Linked DNA regions of Homo sapiens: all the other regions are linked to region 5. Evidence: promoter capture Hi-C in human tissues and cell types (Jung and others, 2019). All regions are on one chromosome and are shown on one strand. Each heading gives the region's core, a stretch centred on a gene start or on the middle of the fragment in contact. The rest is flanking DNA. Distances are from core to core; before and after follow the strand shown. Region 1 overlaps LOC105374224 (a long non-coding RNA gene). Region 2 overlaps NLGN1 (neuroligin 1). Region 3 overlaps NLGN1 (neuroligin 1). Region 4 overlaps NLGN1 (neuroligin 1). Region 5 holds the start of NLGN1 (neuroligin 1).

Region 1 (2,700 bases), core at 197-2,696, 160 kb before region 5:
AATTTTGATTTTTTTTACCAAGTTCTTGCATATGTTTTGTTAATGTTATTGCTAAGTACCCTACATTTTTGTAGCAACTGTAATTATTTTCTCTGAAGTCAGCTTTAATAAGATAAATTAATATAATATAACCAGAACCTATCACATGTGTGTAATTTGATGAGTTTTGAAAAACATATCGCTCACATAATCACTACCACAGTCAAGATAAAGAATTGTTTTTTTTTTTTTGAGACGGAGTCTCACTCTGTCACCCAGGCTGGAGTGCAGTGGCTCGATCTCAGCTTACTGCAAGCTCTGCCTCCCAGTTCAAGTGATTCTCCTAATTCAGCCTCCTGAATAGCTGAGACTACACGGGCCCGCCACCACGCCCGGCTAATTTTTTGTATTTTTAGTAGAGACGGGGTTTCACCATGTTAGCCAGGATGGTCTTGATCTCCTGACCTCGTGATCCACCACCTCAGCCTCCCAAAGTGCTGGGATTACAGGCATGAGCCACTGCACCCAGCCAAGCATTTTTATTATTTAAAACAATCCCTTGTTCTCTTTCCCAGTCCACCAAATCATCTCTTCTGCCCACGGGTAAGCAATGATATGTCTTCTGTAAGAATAGATCAGATTGTTTTCCATTGTTTTATACAAACAGAATCATATGGTATACATTGTTTATGTCTAGCTTCTGTCACACAGCATGCTTTTTGAGATTTACTCATGATTTTGCATATATCAATAATTCTAGTTCTTTCCAAATTATTTGTCTATTCACCTGTTCATGAACACTTCGGTTATTTCCAGGTTTAGGCTATTATCTTTTAAACTGCTGTAAACATTTATGCACAAGTCTTTAGATTAATTACATTTTCATCTTTTTGGGGTACATATATAGTAGCAGAATAGTAAGGTGTCATGTGACGTGTATGTTTAGCATTTAAAAAACTCCAAAACTGTTTTTCAAAGTGGCTGTACAATTTTTCATTTTTTATTTCCTTAAGTTTTCAAATGTCGTGGCTTAAATGTATTTATAGTGTTATTTTATTTGTATGTCTTTGCTATAATTCTACCTTTATACTTCTTAAATTTATTATGGGTTTTTATTATGTTTTTCTTGATCAATCCTGAAACAGCTTTGCTCCTTTTAGTTGTTTTTTCAAAAACAAGTGTTTTAGGTTTATTGATTCTTTTATTGTATTTTTCATTTATTTGAATTTGCCTTTTTTCTTCATTATTGTTTTCTTTCAATGTTCTCTGGATTTATTTATCTTTTTCTAGCTTCCCAAGATGAATACTGTGATGGTCTTTGATTTATTGCCTCTCAGCTCCAAATTCACACTTTAAAAAAAGAGAAAAGGAGTTGGCCTTATAAATATTTCTCTTTTGCCTACTGAGAGATCTTAAGGGACATTGAAGGAGAAAGATTTTTCTTCCTGCTTCTGGAGAGGGTTGCTCATCGACTGCTATAGAATATGCCTTTTTATCCACTGCTTGGCCTGCACAGAATCTTCAGGGCTCGGTGCTGATAGGGATCAGCTTTATACAGTGTTTGGCTACTGTGTGCTTTTTGCAGCCATTGACTTAAGCAGCAGCAACACAGACCAAACTCTTACATAGCATGGGCTACAGCCTTGGCCAAGATCCCTACTCCCTGCACTCTCCCCTCAGTCTCACATGAACCAGGCTTGGGGCCCCAGTGGATTGGCCATTTAATGACATTGCTTCCCAATCTTAACTCCTAGAAGCTGTCCCAGAATCACTCAGCCCATACTGTACAAAAGAAGAATGCTAGATTCCTGTAGAGGAAGGCTTCTCCAGCTCCTGGTTTCACTAGCAACCATTGCGGTGACTTCCTCCTTCCCTCCACTCTCTAATCTCCCTGCCCACTCACTCTTCACTTCCGTACTGCCCCAAACCCCACTCTTCCGGAATGCTTCTCAGTGCCTATTTGTCATTCTAACTTGTTTGTGTCTTGAAGGTTTATTTTCTTCCTGACACAAACACAGCACTATTCTTCATTTTCCCAGTGATGCCTCAACTCCATCTGATATCTGTCCACAGCTTTAACTTCTCTGCACTCCAGAGAGTTGTTCCTGCTTGTCTAGCCACTGAGGACCAGCTTTGGTTTAGCAATCCAGCAAACTCTTTCCTTAACTAACTGAGCCACAACCATATTTTCCTCTACAAGGTTTGAACATCTTTTCAAATTTGTCTTTCCTTGGGCACTCGCTCTCAGGCCTTGGATCAATTTCCATTAGAGTTCTCTGTCTATCATTATGGTAACTCTTCTATCATAATCAATAATTCTTTATATCAAAATGATTTTAAACTTCCCCTGATTTCTTTCTCCTGATTAGATTCAGCCTATGTAAATACCAACTAAGTTTCCGTGTGTTTTCTAATAAAGGCATTTAAGGCTATTAATTCCCCTCTAGTAGTAAATTGTTATATATGGTAAGATTTCTGCTACTGCTAGTGTTCTGTAACAAGAATTAGCTCATGTAAGATTGGTAAATAAGAGAATAATGCTTACATAATGCCTATATTGTTTTGGTTCATACTTTTTTAAGAAAACCAACATGTTAAGATTACATCTTACCAAAAGTAATAGCAGTAAAATGCAAAGTGCACTAGAATAGAATGTGAACTAATAATGCTGGATACTGTCAGCTGTGGGTGAACATAGTGCTATAAATGACATTTATTCAT
Region 2 (2,700 bases), core at 35-2,534, 190 kb after region 5:
GGTTACTTGTAATGTTTGAAAATGAATTGAAAATTGTCATTGCTTTTTAAAAAACAGTCACAATGAGTACTCTCATATTGTCATATGGAATACTTTCTATGCTTGGAAGATCAACAAGTTCAAACATGTAATCAAGTAATATTGAGTTGATAAAATCCAGGTTGAGATTATCATTAGTAAAAGTTTTTTTCCATGTGACAACCACCACTTCTATGACAGAACTGACCAGAAAAAGTGATTACAGCATAGAACGTTGTGAATATTGTGAATGGTTGTCACAATATTCACACCTTGAAAATAAAACTTGAGCAATTTAATAGTTAACTATAGAGCTAAAAGGAATAAAAGTTCACTTCAGCAACCATTATGTTACAAGTCAGTGCATCTGTCATTTCTAATTTAAATCTGTATTACTTACTGTCCAACACTTTACACATAAGTGACAGTGTTATCTATTCTTTTTCTTATGGGTAGAAAAAGTCACCAGTTTCATTACCTGTTTAACTGTGCCAAGTGTTCTAATACATATGTTACTACAAGATTGATGCCAAAAGTCCCTGTTATTTCACGCCACGGTCTTTAATAACAACATCTAAGAAGGAAAGCGTTTTTTGTTTTGAAGGAATACTGTACTAGTAGTCTGTATAACCTCCACCATAGTAGGGGATTTTTGTCTGGTTTGTTCGGAGCTGAGTGTATTTCTCTTCATCGCCTAGAGAACAGTACCTGGTACATAACTGGAAATCAATAAACGTTTATTGAATGAATGAATGAAAATCGACTTGTGTTCTAGCCTTGGATGTTAGTAACTAAACATGTAACCTCTTTATGTAATGAATACCTGGGATCTTCATTTTTGCTTTTTAAAAAATGTATAATCAGTAGTTATTTGAATTGACAAATAATTTTAAATAATGTACAAAATTCCAAAGGGAGGAAGGATTCTATTCAAAAATTGAATATTAATTAGAGACAAATAGTAACTGAGGCTTTTTAGTGATTTCATATAGAGTTTATATACTTCACTTTGATAAATTATTTGATCAAGACTTACAAGTGTAGTAGGATTATTTATATTGTTATAATTTACTGAAGGTACATTAGAGCTATTTTCTTCCATGAAGAAAATGTGATATCTCAGGGAACGTTGGAATTACTAAAAGTTATTTCAAACAGGTAGAACGTGAACAATAAGACAATAAGATTTAAAATATAACGGTTTGGGATTTTCGTCATTACTTAAGATCTTTTTCCATTTTGTAAAACTTTATAATCCCATTCTCCCTATTATAAAATTTGAATTTAAATGGTGACTTTATTTGGCAACCTATATTCCATGTGTATATTAAATTCTTGTTAATATTCTATTCTATTCATTAATATATTGATATACTATTTGTGTTACACAAATGGCCCATGAACAGGGCATTATTTTGAATTTTGTTATTGTTATTAGTACTAATGCAACTTTTATATGAAGGAAGAAAATGATGTAGATATATAAAGGAGATTGCTAGTGTGATATTCTTTCTCCTTTGGATCACTGGTTGAGCTCTAAGCCAGGTCAGGAGTGACAGGAAACCATTATTGCTGTTCGGTGCCTTATGTGAAAGGCGTTGGTGGTCTTAGTCCAGTTCCTAGTAGACAGCTACTCCTTAAACAATAGTCACCACAGTATTTGCCAATTCCAGCAAAAGCCTGGGACTGAATGGACACAAAGGTTTAACTACCCACTCTCTGCTGATCATCCTCCAAGGGGTCAAGATTGACACACCCTGGCACAGGGCCATACTCAAACTTAGCACTGCCTCTGCCAAAGTTGCAGCTATTCTCTGGCAACAAGGGATTTTTTTTAACTGGACTTTAATTAAGCAGGGAACCAGGAATGGCAATTTTCCACTCTTCCCAGGCATGAGCAACTCACTACACACAAAAATAAGCTTAAAGAATGAGTTGAGACTGTAGCACTCTTCTTAGGTTGTGCTAGCTTCTCTATAAAGATACTAGCAGGCATAATTAAGTTGCTTCTGGAAGCAATGACTTGTGACCCAAAGGTGGCCCCTTCCAGACAAAATCATCAACTTAATATCAAGGGAAGTAATCAGCTCTACCAGGCTGTCTCTTCTGAGCTCTTGAGTGATTATTCATTTTCTTCTGTGGGATCACAGGGTCATCAATTGGTTTTAAAAATGTATCCTGTGGTATTTTACATATACATTAAAACTGTTGCCCATGACTTTTGAATAACATTCTGCCTCATTGATTTTTGCCCCTCTTGCCCCCTTCACCTCCCTGTTCATTTGGAAGTCAGGCTTCCTAAGTAGATTCTAGATTTAACAATTAATATTTGGAGATTACACCTGAAAATAGTTTCAGAATAAATAGAAAGTAAAACTTATATAGTTAATGTTAAATTTTTTTTCAGCCCTCCTCTTCAGAATAACAAAATAAAGAAGAAGCTGTCTAATATTTCGCCATTAGTTGTAATGATGGTTATAGCAGAAATACTCAGTTTTGTAATGCAGAAGACGATGCTGTCACCTTAATCTTTTTCTCTTTTTGTTGTCAGAAAAGCTATTATGGCATCTTAGAATCTTATTGTATTTTCTTTTTTGCCACACAATAGTGGAATTAGCTGCCAGTCTACATGGATATCTATGCACACGCCTACATGATGAGAAATTTCCATTGTATTGTCAT
Region 3 (2,700 bases), core at 197-2,696, 150 kb after region 5:
CTGTTAAATAAAAATATATTGGTTAAATGAAGAAAATCTGAGGCGTTCTCATAGGAGTAACAAAAAAGAAAAATGCACATAAATTATATTCCACTAGATCTGAGGTTTCTGAATTTTTCCAGGCTATAGTTCTAATATTCCGCTATATTTCCTCTGTCTGTTATGTATAGGTATGATAAGCCTTGGCAGCTGGGCTGCGCTATTAAATTCATGGATTATTGTTCAACTGATAATGAAATGATAACAACTGTCAAGAATCATTCCTTTACACAGGCTTTTACTTATACACATAAAGTTGAGCAGTGTCCACCAATGTTCTATATCTTGGATGAAGAAGAAAATGATTAAATATCTTATATTCTTGATTATAATGAGAAATACTATTTCCTTGCAAATATTATTTATAACTTAGAAAGTAATATGTGCATATGCATAAAAAAGCAATGAGTACAAAATTAAACAGTATAAAATAATAATGTGCCCTCTTATTATAAGTCCCTTGCTTACTCCCTGGAGGAACCCATTTTTTCAGAACATTCCCATGTTTCTATAAGTAAGATGTTCATTTTGGAGATACTCCACTTTGGCATACTTGTTAATTAAACTTGGGACTCGAAAGACTTGCATTATTTAAATTATTCTTGGGTAAAATTGCTATTTTTTTTCTCATGACTACTTCAGCGAATATTAGTCTGAATCTCTCCAAATCTTGTTTTCTTACTACAGACCACCATCAACTGTCATTTGAGTTCTCTATCATTATGAACTACAGTCTTGTAAATCTTTCATTCACTCAACAGGATTATAGCGCATACTCTGAAAGAAGTACTTCATCCTAATTAGTTCCACAGGTGCCTTTCCTTTAAAAAGGAAATAGTTTCCACACTGTCTCCAGAAGAATGTTATCGGGTCATTATGCCTTTGATAAATGAATGTGCTGCGGAGCCTGGGTTTCCCTGAAGGGTCTCTGCAACGCACAAAAATGCTGTGTTATAACTTTTGATCCATGATTGCCCTAATTTTCTCAATTTATCCAATATTATATCCAGATATGCAGTCCCAGATCTCCAATGAACCACACTGATGCTTCTTTGTTGATCTTATATACTTATTTTTCCTCAGGTTGCTACTAAACATAAGTTCTTCTCTTCATACTAGGTATTATGTGTCAGCTTTTAGCGAATTAGATTGTTTATTGCATTGGGATGAGAATAAAGTACTTACAGACAATGGATTAGTGGTTTGAATTCTTCCCAGGCTATCAGCAATCAGAAGTTGTTAGTACTCTCTTGGGGTCTATATAAAATGAAGGTGGTCTGATTACAATTCTGGGCCAGCAGGAAGGAGTACAATTTCTATTACAGGGGGGTAGGAACGGAAGTCTTGGTAAGGAGGCCAGATGTCTCCTTCTAATGGCTTATAAGAACAAAACCTGAACATGTTTTAATTTTTTTTTTCCTCAAAGCACTATCTCGGGAGTAGTGCTAAGGTATTTCATTCCCTCCCCACAATCATTTTCTCCCACTATAATAACTTATTCGTTAATTTACTTACGCATTTACTTCTTTCTCTAACACTCAAAAGTTCAAAAAGTTCATTGAGATTGTCTCTATTTTACTTGTTCCAAGCCAGTGCCTACCAAAACCAAACACTTTTGGCCCTTCACTTACCATATGCAGCCACCTTGTTAATCACTGTTTCTCTGGACCTCATAGTTTATTGCCTTTGCAAATAGGGGCTGTAAATCTATTGTGCTTCTCTAAAATTAATTTCTGGTCAATATATCAAAGAAGCTTTGATGACATTTGACCAAGGCAGACGAAGATACAAAAACCTATGTAAAATGATTCTGAAATGCTTCCTATAGATCAGCCAGACTTTTAAATCGTGTATGCCTTACTATAATGAAAAAGTGAAAGAGAAAGCATGAGGAAACTAGAGTAAACTGGGAACTGTGCTTGGAACCCAGAGTGATACCAGCACCTCACATTTTTTTTTTTTTTGTAGATCATGTGATGCTTCTGTAGTGGTTATAGAAGCAGTGTGATCTGCCTGTAGAGCTAATTGGCATCAATGAGTTTTAAGACAACTTTCTGAAGGAAAATACAGTATGTGATTTTAGTTTGGTAATGAAGGCTGGATTTTTATACTATTGAAACAGCTTGAAACTTTTGACCAAGGCCTGTAGAAAGAAATATATGTATTTAATATTAGAATCTAGCGAACACAAACACGCTAACACGTGTGTGTATGAAAGTATATATGTATATATTTATATATATGAAAGTATATCTATTTCTATATGAATATAATTTGAAGTGGAGATTCTATTAAATGATTCTTACCTTGCTATGTGTAATGTCCTCTGACATATTCTAGTATTTATTCTACACGGTACCACTAAAAAATAACTCAAGTATCTGGCCATATACCATTAGATCTATTTCATGCATGCTTAATGGCTTACGTACTGCAGTTTGAAAAACATTGTTCTATTGTTACTCCTTACGAATTGTGGATATATATTTCTATATTATGTCATTTTTACCACAATTGCTTTCATTTCAAAAAAAATTTGTGTTAAAACATGTTTACGCATTGGTTTTTTAAAGTACTGAAGACTACAAATATGTTCACCATCATTGTGGATTGAAATAGTTTGTAACTATTCCCTTTTCACACAACTAGATAACAAATCCA
Region 4 (2,700 bases), core at 17-2,516, 130 kb after region 5:
GCAAGATCAAGGAAATTTTCCTGCATTATTCCTTCAAATATGTTTTCCACATTTCTTAGTTTTTCTTCTTCTCTCTCAGGAGTAACTATAATTCATAGGTTTGGTCACTTCACATAATTCCATATTTCTCCAAGGCTTTGTTTATTTTTTAAAACATATTTTCTCTTTACTTTTGTCTAACTGGGTTAATTTGAAAGACCAATCTTCGAGCTCTGAAATGATTTCTTCTGCTTGGTCTAGTCTACTCTTAAAGCTTTCAACTGTATTTTGAACTCATTTAAGTGGATTTTTCATTTCCAAACGTTCTGTTTGTTTTTGTTTTTAAGACATCTATCTCTTCCTTCATTTCCTGGGTTGCTTTTAGGGTTTCTGTGTGTTGGTTTTCAACCTTTTCTTTGATCTCATTGAATTTTCTTACAATCTATACTTTGAATTTTTATGTAATTTCCGAATTTTCATTTTGGTTAGGGTCCATTGCTAGAGAGCTAGTGTGATCCTTTGATGGTTTCACAGCATTCAGATTTTACATGGTACCAGAATTCTTATGCTGGATCCTTATCATCTAGGGAAGCTGACACTTCTTGCTTTTGAAGTTACTTTTGTTTGGATGGAACTTTAAAAATCTATCTTTATTTTATTTATTTCCCACCCCACCTTGAGGATGTGACTGTACAGTATGTTAGGTAGGGGCCTTTTGGCTTTGCTTCTATGGTCCTGTGCACTTCTGTTGGCAGGTTTTATATTGCATTGTGTGGTTTGACCTACCGGCCAGTAGGTGGCACTTCCGGGTAAGAGCCAGCAGCGCAAAAGCAGGTGAGTACGTACTTGACACTTGTTTACTGTGAGGTGCTCTCTGTTGTTTCATGTGATGGGCTGGGCAGCCCTGTTCGGGGTGAAGGGGGGACAAAGATGGGCAGATCTGGGCCACCTGGCTTGCCCATGAATACTCCAATGAAGAGCACAAGCACCAGACTTAAGGGGGTGACAGTGGGGGCTCCTGGTTAAATGCACTGAGATCTTTGCTGGGGTTGAAGAGGCTGCACCAGCTGCATGCCCTAGATCGGCAAGAACTTGATCTGTTTATCACACCCCTGTCCTGGGGGCTTGTGACTCTTAGTTCAGATCCACACCATTTGTCCATCTATCTCTAGGCCACAGTGCAGCTGAATGCCGTGGGAAATGCCTGACCCTCAGCTCTCAGTAGGAACGGTTTTGGGGTGGAACCTCTTTGTTCCACCCAATAAAGACGGCTTTGTGGCTAACCTGTTCGTCAATGCAGTAATGTTGCTACTTTGTGTAGAGAAGGGGAGGATACCTTTCAGGATGTGCGTGAGGCTGGGTATTAGCTGTGGTGGAGTTGGCTGGTTGGGTTGACCGGCCTCTAGCCCTGGGTGGAGTGGTCAGGTGTCAGTGGTGTAGAAATGGACTAGGTAATTCCCCAACTCCCATGTTCCTAACTTATGGAACACTTTCTTTTCCTTTTTTTTTTAGATAGAGTCTTACTCTGTCACCCAGGCTGGAGTGCAGTGGCGCGATCTCAGCTTACTGCAACCCCCGCCTCCTGGGTTCAAGCAATTATCCTGCCTCAGTCTCCTGAGTAGCTGGTACAGTTACACACCAACATGCCTGGCTAATTTTTGTATTTTTAGTAGAGACAAGGTTTCACCATGTTGGCCAGGCTAGTTTTGAACTCCTGACCTCAAGTGATCCTGCTGTCTCGGCCTCCCAAAGTGCTGGGATTACAGGCGTGAGCCACCATGCCCGACCTTATGGGGCACTTTCTGTGTGCCTAGTTGCACCAGCCTTGTTTTCATTCCCACTGTGACTCTGAGGTAGGTATTATGATCCCCATTTGGTCAATGAGAGGAAGGAATAAAGGACACTGATGAGTTCTATGTGTTGTCGTCCTGGAAGAGAGAGGGTGTGGATGAATGAAACAGAAGTTAAACTCACCTAGGGGAGAGATATTTTCTGTTGGAAAGTAGTAGATATCACCCTCAAACATAAAAGCTATTCGTGAGGGTAATTTTCTGAGGTGAGTTTAGTTAAATTACTTACAGATATTTAACCATATGAGTGAATTAAAAATTTTCATCATATTTACTTAATTTAGTACTTTTTATTGAAAGCTGTTGGCGTTGGTCTTCTATCAGCAGAGAAAACATTATTGAGTTGTTATTTAAAGTGTTAATCTGATGGTTCTTTAATTTTTCACCTTTCTACTAAAAAATCTGATTTGATGCTGAGCAAATGCCTGCTCTTTTGTTTTAATTCTGAAAACAGAGTTTAAATAATTACTTTCTAGGCTCTTTATAGTTCATCATTTTTCTTTTGTCATTTAGTTTATAATTATATTTAAATGCTCTTTGCTTTAGTTAAAATTATTTTTACTGTTCGATGCTCATTTTTTAAAATGAGTTTTTAAAAGTATTTTGGGTTTTCTTGGGCTTTGCTTTAATTGACATAATTTTCCAGTTCTACCATTTTCTGAAGCTTTTAAAATCGTTCTTTCTTCTAAAATTCTCACTTTCATTTTTGCTAGTGTTTGACCTACTCTGCTCTTCATTTTTAGAATATACAATTACTTTATTAGAAAAAATTTATGGCTGTGTATTGTGACACTTACTTTTCTTTAAACTAACATGCACTCCATAAATTTTATGTTTAAGCATACAAATCTAGGTAACTGTTTTATTTTGC
Region 5 (2,700 bases), core at 191-2,690:
GCAGGTGGCTCCTGGTACGAAATCTCTGGATACATTTGGCTTGCCAAGTTTTGCTCTTCGCTGTCCCCTCCCGTTTACAGAAGCATCTGTGGTGCTTTTCATTTTGGATTTACATGCAGGAAACGTATATATGTTTATATACCGACCGCATAATATATAAATACATATACGCGTGCCCAAGGGCCTGGTTTTCGTCTCTCCTCCCCACGAAACGGAATGTTTTGGAGCCGATGGATAACAAGAACACTATTAACATTCTTTTGAGCCTGTTTTTTAAAAGGGGGAGGGAGCGTGAAGAATTGTTTAACATTTGGCCATCGTTTGGCTGCACACTAAGCACCACGAAGTATTTATGGTTGCAGATCAGGTGCAAACGGGGCTTAGAGAGAAAGGTAAGGGAGCTTCCTGCGTCCGCCGAGCTCCGGCGTTTACCTTAATCCCGGGGATTGCCGAGAACTTCCTATTCCCTGCCTCTCCTTCGCCTTCCCCACCTTCCACCCACCCTTCTCTGCTCTCTCTCTTCTGTAAACTCAACCCTTTTCCAATCCCATTGGGGTGGGGGTGGGGGGTGCTGGAGGTATAATCGTCTATTTGAGTTTAAATGCGTCTCTCTTTCCCAGGCTAGTAGCTGAGTTTTCCAATAGCCTTTCTGGCGGTTTTAGGAAATCGTGTCCTTTATAAAAAATAATGCTACCTAAATAAGTGTTTTAAACATCTGAAGATGCCAGTCCCTCACCCTATCCTCTGATGAAAATAAAAGCAATAAAAAATAATGAACTTTAATAAACTGGGTGGTTTTTTTTAAGCGTTGGGGTTCATGGAAGCTCCCAAACGCTTTTTTTCATTTAAAAAGAAAGATAACCAGCAAACAAACCAATCTCAGGAGGAGTCCACAGTGGAGGAGATTCGCCTTCCGTTTCTGCATAAAACCAATACATTTTACTTGGAGGGTAATTTGCCAGAGTTGAGCGAGACGAAGCCGTGTCTAAATAAGTACATGACACTAAATTTCCTTTTAAATCCACCTTTTACACCATGGCCAGTCGCTTGTTTAACTCCCGTTCAAGGGACACGGTTTTCAAACGTGACCTTTTGGGGAGATGTGGGAACTTCCCCTCATTTCTTCTTCTGTGCCGCTAACCTCTTTCCTCCTCCGCGCGGCATCTCCAGCCCCGGCAGTTTGTAAATTGCCCGTTTTGCCCACCCTCCTGGTGGGCGTTCTCTCCCCCACTCCACTCCTGCCCCCTCTGTCCTTTCTTCATTGGCGTCTTCGGAGCAGATGCATCTTCTTTCTTCTTGGCCTCACTCTCCCGTTCCCCCGTCAGTCCCCCCACCCGCGGCTCCCCACTTGCCCCAGCTCTCCTCGCCGCTCCTCCCCGCCTCCCCGCGGAGGGTTGACCCTTCAATTCGGAGTCCCGGCCTGTGGGCGGGCGGGGGAGCGCCGCGGCTGTAAGCCGAGGATCAGGCGGCGGCGCGGAGAGCGCGCCCGGGCGGCCAGCGCCGAGCGCGCGGAGCTGGCGTGGGGAGACACGGCAGGAAAGGCGAGTCGGAGTGGGTGATGAGAGGCCGGGAGAGCCCGTCCGAGCCGGAGAGACCGGAGAGAAGGGAGCGAGCGACTGTGCGGCGCTCACGCTGCCAGAGCCCGGGCGGAGTGCAGTCGCCTCCAAAGCCTTAGAGCGGCGCCCCAGTCACTGCAGCTCTTCACCCTAGAGCTGTGCCCTGGGACCACAGAGACCAAGAGCATGGAAATCGGCTGAGAGGTACAAAAGAAATAAGGAACAGATTACGAGAAAGCGGGGAGGGTTTCCTGGCGAAATACGGAGGCTGAGCAGATGGAGGAACAATGCCGCCTCCAGAAGAAAACCCTTGCCTGAACCCTCGGCGGAGCGCAGAGGAGCTGCTTTCAGCCTTCTGCTCTCCCCAGGCCCTCCGGCTAGTTCTGGGGTTGGTTCCGCCGGTTAGTTTGACAGGGATAAGAAAGTTGCTCTTCTTCCCCACAACGTTTCCTGAGAGGTGGTTTTCAGATCTGTGTGTTTCCAGTCAAGATGTCACTCCCTAGATCCCCCGCGTTGAGCAACTAATATATTATGCATTATTGGGCAATAAACTCTCCTGGGAAGAGAAGGTATTCCAAACATTTAAACCGTTCTCCACCGACTCCTGCCCGCCTCAACACAATGCCTTGTGAGTAGAAATGAAAAACCACCTGAATTTAAAATTATTTAGGTTGAGATTTTGCATTGGGAATAATTTCTTCCAGAGGAGGTTGTTAGTGTGTTATAGAGATGAGGGATATTACATGTCCAATATTTGATTCATTTGTGATAATTCTAAATCATGAACAGTTGGCCTCCACAAAGGTACTATTTCTTTTTGCATTTCCAGGGCCATAGTGATACATATAACACTTGGGAAACGTGAATTCGTATAGTTAACCCAGTATCTGTTACTCTGCATTTTTACAGGTAGTTAATATACTCATTTTCCCTCTTTTTATACTCAAACTCCGGTAGACTATTTTTGCTTAAGTCAATTGAGTTGTCATGCTGTACATGAAAATTACAGGGTCTTAATGCATTTCTCACCATTAATTGTGCTCAATTATTAATAGGATCATAGATATTAAAATGTCACTGAGAAAGGGTATGTGTACCTATGTTTGAGTGTAAAACCTATAAAATGTCTCAGCATTTCTATCAG

The links. Contacts are between HindIII fragments. The study calls those that stand out against the background at their distance.
Region 1: a contact is called between a fragment that was not itself captured here and the fragment with the promoter of NLGN1 in region 5, in 2 of the 25 tissues and cell types used here (H1 embryonic stem cells and mesendoderm cells).
Region 2: a fragment that was not itself captured here is called in contact with the fragment with the promoter of NLGN1 in region 5 in 1 of the 25 tissues and cell types used here (hippocampus).
Region 3: a fragment that was not itself captured here is called in contact with the fragment with the promoter of NLGN1 in region 5 in 4 of the 25 tissues and cell types used here (H1 embryonic stem cells, adrenal gland, hippocampus and 1 more).
Region 4: a fragment that was not itself captured here is called in contact with the fragment with the promoter of NLGN1 in region 5 in 3 of the 25 tissues and cell types used here (H1 embryonic stem cells, mesenchymal stem cells and neural progenitor cells).

What each region holds. Positions count from the first base shown.
Region 1 is chr3:173,236,411-173,239,110 of GRCh38, forward strand. All of the region lies in intron 3 of LOC105374224 (a long non-coding RNA gene), which reads left to right. Among named protein-coding and RNA genes, the nearest start is that of SPATA16, 97 kb to the left of the region's middle. The HindIII fragment of the contact is 3,644 bases long and covers 1-2,700 here.
Region 2 is chr3:173,589,839-173,592,538 of GRCh38, forward strand. All of the region lies in intron 1 of NLGN1 (neuroligin 1), which reads left to right. Among named protein-coding and RNA genes, the nearest start is that of NLGN1, 190 kb to the left of the region's middle. The HindIII fragment of the contact is 5,962 bases long and covers 1-2,700 here.
Region 3 is chr3:173,546,495-173,549,194 of GRCh38, forward strand. The region is part of intron 1 of NLGN1 (neuroligin 1); the gene reads left to right. Among named protein-coding and RNA genes, the nearest start is that of NLGN1, 150 kb to the left of the region's middle. The HindIII fragment of the contact is 6,570 bases long and covers 1-2,700 here.
Region 4 is chr3:173,528,488-173,531,187 of GRCh38, forward strand. All of the region lies in intron 1 of NLGN1 (neuroligin 1), which reads left to right. Among named protein-coding and RNA genes, the nearest start is that of NLGN1, 130 kb to the left of the region's middle. The HindIII fragment of the contact is 5,549 bases long and covers 1-2,700 here.
Region 5 is chr3:173,396,304-173,399,003 of GRCh38, forward strand. NLGN1 (neuroligin 1) reads left to right here and starts at 1,441. Exons shown (of 7, transcript NM_001365925.2): 1 at 1,441-1,760. RefSeq lists an enhancer at 1-209. The HindIII fragment of the contact is 5,603 bases long and covers 1-2,700 here.